2 separate regions of the Homo sapiens genome follow, and region 1 is linked to region 2. The links are contacts of gene promoters, found by promoter capture Hi-C in human tissues and cell types (Jung and others, 2019). All regions are on one chromosome and are shown on one strand. The core of a region is centred on a gene start or on the middle of the fragment in contact, and the rest is flanking DNA. Distances in the headings are between cores, read along the strand shown.

What was found. Contacts are between HindIII fragments. The study calls those that stand out against the background at their distance.
Region 1: the fragment with the promoter of NACC2 here is called in contact with the fragment with the promoter of PMPCA in region 2 in 1 of the 25 tissues and cell types used here (heart right ventricle).

The regions. Positions count from the first base shown.
Region 1 is chr9:136,093,773-136,097,446 of GRCh38, reverse strand. NACC2 (NACC family member 2) reads left to right here and starts at 2,158. Exons shown (of 6, transcript NM_144653.5): 1 at 2,158-2,258. RefSeq lists silencers at 1,696-1,795, 2,116-2,245 and an enhancer at 3,451-3,674. The HindIII fragment of the contact is 19,137 bases long and covers 1-3,674 here.
Region 2 is chr9:136,408,364-136,412,081 of GRCh38, reverse strand. PMPCA (peptidase, mitochondrial processing subunit alpha) reads right to left here and starts at 1,424. Exons shown (of 13, transcript NM_015160.3): 1 at 1,343-1,424; 2 at 1-85. The coding sequence starts at 1,413. It overlaps ENTR1 (endosome associated trafficking regulator 1), which reads left to right and starts at 1,468. Exons shown (of 10, transcript NM_001039707.2): 1 at 1,468-1,754; 2 at 1,843-1,992; 3 at 3,015-3,083. The coding sequence starts at 1,685. RefSeq lists enhancers at 1,186-1,235, 1,266-1,355, 2,206-2,365 and silencers at 1,566-1,655, 1,796-1,845. The HindIII fragment of the contact is 13,229 bases long and covers 1-3,718 here.

The DNA of each region.
Region 1 (3,674 bases), core at 909-3,408, 320 kb after region 2:
ACCTGAGGTCAGGAGTTCAAGACCAGCCTGCCTAACATGGTGAAACCCCGTCTCTACTAAAAATACAAAAATTAGCTGGGCGTGGTGGCACGTGCCGATAATGCCAGCTACTCGGGAGGCTGAGGCAGGAGAATCGCTTGAACCCGGGAGGCAGAGGTTACAGTGAGCTGAGATCGCGCCACTGCACCCCAGCCTGGGCAACAGTGTGAGACTCGGACTCAAAAAAAAAAAAAAAAAAAGGAATAAACAGAGCTCACCTCATGGTACTGTTGTGAACGTTAAATGCGGTAAGGTGTACATACTCAGTAGCACGGGCCTGGAATTCAGTAGGGATGCAGGGTTTGCTTTAAAAGGTGCAAATATATGTTGGTGTACATACGTATAGGCACACAGAAATTGGGGAATTGATTTCTGCTTATCCGCTATCTTCTAAACACTTTTCAATGCTTTCCAAATATCCTTCACTAAGGAAGAATGTCTTTAATATTTAGAAAATAAAAGTGATTAAAACAATCATTCCCATCCCTGGAGGGCCACGGGTCCTAGTGGGTAGCCCCTTGAGGCCTGCCCCAGGGCTGGAAGCAGCTCCAGGCATCTGTCTCTGGGATTCACGATTCTCAGGGGCTTGGGGTAGCTATGCTCACTGAGAGATCCTGCAGAGATTGTAAAGTCAGGCCTAGGAAGCACCAGAACCCTGAGGCTGCTGAGCTCATGCCCTGGGTGTAGGAGGCACTCAGAACCCTCCTACCCCACCTCCTTCCCACAGTAGACTGCGGGGCGGGTTTGGAAGTGGCAGTGGTGGGGGGAGGGGGGTTGGGGTGTGGGACCTGGGACTGCATTTAGGTCTAGATGGGACTCTGTGGGGAGAGCCCAGAGTCCCTGCGGGGTTCCATACTCACCCCCATACAAGGCAAGCCAGGGAGTGAAGTGTGTGTGTGTGTGTGTGTGTGTGTTCTGGACGCAGAGCTGAATAGAACCTAAAGTTGGGGTCAAGGGCCAGTCTGTGGCCAAGATCAAGGGCCTAGCTTGAGGTTGGGGTGACAAGAACCTGGCCAAGCTTCTGATGATTTGTCCAGGGAATGACCTTGGCTGACTGTGCCAGAAGGGCTGTAGCCCCAGGTTTCTGATCCCCAGAGCCCCAAAGGCGTTCTCTGGGATGCTGGTGGCCATCTCCTTCTCAACCCTTCTCCCAGCGCCCTCGCTCGGGACCACTGAGGCGGTATCACTCCATTCTCCTGCAAGGACCCTTGAGCGTGCTGTGGGAGTGAGGCTGGCTTAGCCTCTGAGGACCACTGCAGCCTGTCCTGACCTCAGGCCCCAGGTTAGGGGGCAGCTGAGGAGGGGTCTCTGGGTCTTTCCGGGTGTGTGGCCGTTTTATTTCCGTGCCCTTGTTTTAAAACTGCACCTCTGTCCTCAGGAGCGTGGCCTTGGGCAGATGGAGAGCTGCGTGGCCGGTGCCGGAATGACTGTCAACGCCCCAGTGCGCCCGGATCACACCAGGCCTGAAGGCAGCGCCAGGCCCAGTCCAGGCAGCTTGCAGTTCCCGGGCCGCAGGGACGGGCGCCGGAGCCCCGCAGACGTTCGCCCAAGGGCGCTCCCGTATCCTCGTCTTTCACGGCCCGCCTGAGCGTCCAGGGCGGCTGCGGATGCGCGCACTTCCCCCGCCCGGATCCCGGAGGCTGCACCGTGCGGACGCGACTGCCGCGGGCAGGGCGCGCGCCGGGGGCGGGGTAGGGGGGCCCGGGGGCTCTCCCGGGCTTAGCGAGTCCGGCCGAGGCCGGGGCCCGGGGAGGGCGGAGGGCGGCGCTCCAGGTCCTTTCCCGACCCGGCCGCCGAGCTCCGTCCTCTGCGCCGCGGCGTCCGGCTCCCGCCGGGTGTCCCGCGCAGGGTCGACCGCCGGCAGCTCCGGAAGGAGGACGCGCGAGGGGCGAGGAGCTGCCGCCTCCCCTCCCCAGCGCTCGGGGTTCCCCACGCCCCGCCGGCCCCCACTGGGGACCCTCCCGGCCCCCGGACCCCAGCCCCGACCCCGGGAGCCCACCTGGCTGCCAGTGCGCGCGCGCGCGCGGCCGGCGCGCTGTCCCTTTAACGGCCCGCGGGCACCTCCCCCGCCGCCGCCCCGCCCCCGCCGCGGTGCGGCCGCCGGTGCTGGGCGAGGTCGGAGAAAGTCCATGGGAGCCGGAGCGCCGGGACGCCAAGCACTTCCTGCCGCGGGCGGCGCGCCGCAGCTGCCCAGGCCGGACCGGGCCGGGCGCCCGCAGGTACCGCCAACTTGGCGCGCGCGGCCGCCCCCGGGTTACGCCGCCGGGCGGGGTCGTCCCACGGGCCGGGCCCGCACTTCCCGCAAACTCCGCGGCCGCCCAACTTGGCGCGAGCCCCCTGCCGCAGTGCCGGCCGCGCGGGGCGGGTGCGGCCGAGTTCCGCGCCGGCCCGGGCGTGCGCGCGGGAACCGGCCTCGGGAGCCCGCGGAGGGGGGCCGGGCGGGGCCGGGGGGTCCCGGCGGAGGCGCCCGCGACCCCGGGCCGGGACGCCGCGCCGCGCGTTCGGGGAGACCCCGGCTCCGGGCGTCCCGGGGCGCTCCCCGCCGCCTGCTGGGTTTCCCTGGATTTCTGGGGACCCGCGCGGCCTCCCCAGGGACCCGACTGGCCGATCCAGCCCTCCGGGTGGGGAAGCCGGGGCAGGACTGGCCCGGGGCCAGGGCGGAGGTACCCACCCCTCCCGGCGCATCTGCGCAGCTGCCTGGCCCAGCCGGGCCCGCGCCTCGCCCTCCCGGTCCAGGTGGGCCCGTTCGTGGGTCGTCACCGCCTCCCGCGCCTCCCCCACTCGGGCCCCAGCCTGGGGAGAAACTGGGGTCCGGCCGCAGGGGGAGGGGGCTCTGCCTCTTGCCAGCTTCTGTGCCTCTGCGGAGCTGAGGTCGGGGGGCCCCAGCTCCTTCTCTAAGAAACTCAGCGGAGCCCGGGGCCCGCCGCGCACCCCGCACGGCCAGGGCGGACCGAGGCCTTCCGACGGAGTTTCCTGCTTCTCTTGCTGGGATCGTGTGGGGTCGGAGGTCAGAGGTCACCTCCCAGCCCCTCTGCCAGGCTCTGGGGGAAGTTTGGTCTTGGACTCTCGTCGTGGAGCCGCTTAAACCTGTGGGTCTGAAGGCCGCGAGGCCGGGTCCCTGGAGTTGGCCTCCCAGGCCGTTCCACTCCCTCCCCCAACCCCCGCGCGGGGCCTCCGGATTGGAGGTGTTTCACCCACGTGCTGGTGGGCCCGTCTCCCTGGGCCGCTGGGTGCCCTGAGCTGTGTTCTCTGCTGCGCGTTCCTTCCTGTGTGTGGCGGGGGTGCTGACCCGGGGGTGCCCAAGGCAGCCCGGACTCCCATCCCGTGGAGCTGCCTCCGGGAGCGCGTGCACCTTGGTGTTCCCGCCCGCCAGCGCGGCCGCACTCTCCTGCCAGAGTCCGTGTCCCTCCAGGTCGCCCCTTCTTCTCACCCACCCCTCTTTTCGTCTGGCAGGCTCCTGACCTCCTTCCCTCCTGTTCTCCAGTGGGACACTCAGCTCAGCATTCTGCAGGGTGTTTTAGCCTGTAGCACCCCCCAGCAGGGGCGCCTAGAGTTAGGTCAGGGTTCAGGCAGCCCCCGCCCCACCCGCCACCTCTCAGCCACCCACCCCTTCTTCTCCCGGCCACCGTTGGAGC
Region 2 (3,718 bases), core at 175-2,674:
GGGTACTCCAGGTAAGGGAGAAGAGAGGGGGATGTTGGGATAGGCACCACCACTACTAAACCGTCTGTACGCAGGAGGTCCAAACCTAAAACAGAGAAAGCGGCCCAGTTACAACAGGCTTGAGACAACAAACCTGTGATGACCTGTTAGGTGCGGTTAGTTATGTTTTGTCTGGGTTAAAAGTGAGCATCTGCCTTTCTACAGGACTTATTTCTACAGACTTTGGAAGACAAAGCAGAGGCTGACAACAAAGGCTCAGCCACGGGACCTGGAGCAAGCTGGTTCCGTCCTTTGGGTCTTAGTTGCTATCTCTGTAAAAACAGGGCTTATTAACAGTAACTCACTCTAAGTGCAGTTTGTACACATAAAGCACTTAACAGCTCTGCCCTCCAACAGCACCACCGAAGTCTTGGATAAAAGCCATATCCCTTATTAACCTGGTCCGAAGGCGGGGTGTGACTTGGCCTCTGTCTCCCTCTCCAAACTCATCTCTTGAACCCCCACACTCCCATAGGTCCTGGTCACACTGATTCTTGTCAATTCCTGGAACACATTTGACTCATCAACCCCAAAGCTTCTTCACCGTTCCAGGGCTTGCCCTTTGCCCATGCCTACCCCTTCTTTCATTCTTCAGCTCTTCCCTTAAATGTCACCCTGATGGAGGACTATCCCTCACCAGTCTAGTCTTTCCTGCTATTTTCTATCATGAAAGGCTGCTTGTTTACTCCAAAGCATTTACGCGACTGCCGATATTTTGTTTACGCTCCAGCCTGTATCCATCTCCTGGAGGCAGCACCTCCGCACCCCTGAAACGGCGCTCGTTGTGTGGGGAGGGGCGACGCCTGTGCTGTCGGAACAAAGTTCCAGCGTGGGGAAAGGCAGGCCCGGTCACTTGGGTGGGAGGAGCGGTGGGTACGGAAAGGGTTCTTAAACGTCAGAGATCAACGGACAGACCGCAGCAACCGAGAGCCTGGACCCTGGTGTCAGAACCCTGCGGGTCTAACAGAGCTGGGCCCCCACCGGCTCAGCCTCCTGAAGGAGCACGCGGTAGGTGAAGCGCGGGGGCAAATATGAGGCATGGCCTCGGAGAAGGCCCGTCGACCCGGGAAGTGAGGGGGGGAGAGGACCCAGCAGCCGGGGAGAGGAGAGACAGATGGGACTGCGTCCCCGGGCTCGAGGCGCAAAGCAAGGCAGGGCCCCCGTCGCCTCGGGGACACCAGTGTCCCGAAGTGCGAGCCCGTCCCACGGGCGCCATGTCACCTGTAGAAACCGAAGACGGAGCGTCCAGAAAGACTCGAGCCGCCCCCGCCCCAGGCCGAAGCCTGGTTCGCCTTTGGCTCACCTCAGCCGCGAACAGCCCCAAGAACCCGAGCCCCGCAGCAACCGCGTCGCCGCCAGCACCACAGCCGCCATCTTGCGTCTCCGCCCCGCTTCAGTCGTCACTTCCGCTTCCGCCCACGGCTTCCCCTCCCCCTCGCCGACGGCCCAAGGCGTTCAGGCACGCGCTTTCGGTGCTCGGAGCGGAAGCAGCGGCGAGAGGCTCGGAGGCGCGGGGGCGGCCGAGCGGCGGGCGACGGGGGCGGGCGACGGGGGCGGGCGACGCGGGCCGCGGCACGGGCGGAGCCGGGGCCATGGAGCCGCCGCTGCCGGGCTAGGCAGGTCGTGCCCCGCCGGGCCGGCGGCGATGTCGGGCTACCAGCGCCGCCCGGGCGCCACCCCGCTGTCCCGAGCCCGGAGCCTCGCCATTCCCGACGGTGAGCGGGGCAGGGGCCGAGTCCAGCGGTCCAGGTGGGCGGCGGCCGCCCCGGCACGCAGTAAAGTCGCTGTTGTCGTTGCTTCCAGCTCCAGCGTTCTATGAGCGCCGGTCTTGTCTCCCCCAGCTAAATTGTGAGCGCCCCCATGGCAGGGACCTGGACTCCCCCTTCTTCGGCATTCGGCCGGCCTTTATGTGCTATGTGCCCAGCCCGGTGCTGGCTTCCGTGGGAGACACAGGTGAGAGACGAGGGCGCCGGCCCCGGGGACGCTTCCAGTTCCCGCGCCACGTGTGGCACCTCCGCTGCAGCACGAGCTCGTCCATTGACCCATCAATGTGCAGAGCGCTCACTGCGTGCCAGGCACTCGGAATTCAAAGGCGGAGTCCCCTGCTAGGAGCTCACAGTCTGGTTGCGGGGAGACCTCCCCCAAGACAGACAGTTCCAGTACAGGATGGTTAGTGCCCGGGGAGCACAGGAGCCCGCCCGCTTTCCTCGTGGGGCTGGAGTCGGGGTGCCTTCACCTAGTGGGCAGTGATTGGAAACCGAGCTGGAGCATTCCATCTGCCTCCACAGCCGGGCAGTGGCCAGATCTGGTTCGTCCTCGTTCTACCCAAGCAGAAGTGCTGCTGGGTGCCCGGGGTGTGCAGGAGTGTTTGTGTGGTTATGCCAGGATCTGAGGACATTCGGGGGTTGTCACAAGACAAGAGGACGCGCTTGCCCCGGCTGGGCTTCAAAATCTGCTGAGGAGCCGCTTTCAGACCACGGACACCAGGGCCAGTCTGCAAGTCAGGCCATCTCCAGGGTCACAAGTCTGGGAGCTTGTGTTTTTTTTAAAGTTTTCTCGGCTGACCGGGCGCAGTGGCTTACGCCTGTAATCCCAGCACTTTGGGAGGCCGAGGCAGGCGGATCATGAGGTCAGGAGATTGAGACCATCCTGGCTAACAGGGTGAAAACCCGTCTCTACAAAAAATACAAAAAAATTAGCCGGGCGTGGTGGCAGGTGCCTGTAGTCCCAGCTACTCGGGAGGATGAGGCAGGAGAATGGCGTGAACCCAGGAGGCGGAGCTTGCAGGGAGCCGAGATCGCACCACTGCACTCCAGCTTGGGCGACAGAGCAAGACTCCGTCTCAAAAAAAAAAAAAAAGTTCTCTAGACTGTGAGAACCACTGCAGTGGAGACTCCATGTGCAAAAGAAAAAAACCAAATGTGAGGTCATAAAGACTTCCTGCCAGCATGGTGGGTGACATTGTTTCTTTGCAGATTTTGGCTATGGAAAGGGGAAATGTTCTAAGCAGAGCCCGTCAGGAGCCCACGGGACACATTTTGGAGGTAGAGTAGTTCAGCAACCTTTTCTTCTTGTCTCCATCCAACACAGTGCCAGGCACGTGTCTGGTGGGACTGTCAATGTGACTGGCTATGTGGTGTAGCTGGAGCCCAAAAGAGCAGGTGGGGGTGGGATTTCAAGGGTTCAGTCTTGATCCTAGAGTAGCAGCGAGGTGACATCAGGGAGCGGGGAAGCCCCACCTGGGGGGCTGGGGCCACAGGAGCCAGCTTTACATGGGGCTCACAGCTGGGAGGGTCGAGTGTGGCTGCTTAAGTCCCCGGAGGGTGGGAAGGCGGTGGCAAGAGGGAGAAGGGAAAAGTGGGCGTTATTTAGGCTACCTAGGTAGGAAAGTCGGGAAGAGGGTCAGGGGGCACTGGGTCCCCAGCGTTGCAGCACCTGAGGAGCTGGTTGTTGTTGTTGTTTTTTGAGACAGAGTCTCGCTCTGTCGCCCAGGCTGGAGTACAGTGGCACGATCTCGGCTCACTGCAAGCTCCACCTCCCAGGTTCACGCCATTCTCCTGCCTCAGCCTCCCGAGTAGCTGGGACTACAGGCGCTCACCACCACGCCTGGCTAATTTTTTGTATTTTTAGTAGAGATGAGGTTTCACCGTGTTAGCCAGGATGGTCTCAGTCTCCTGAC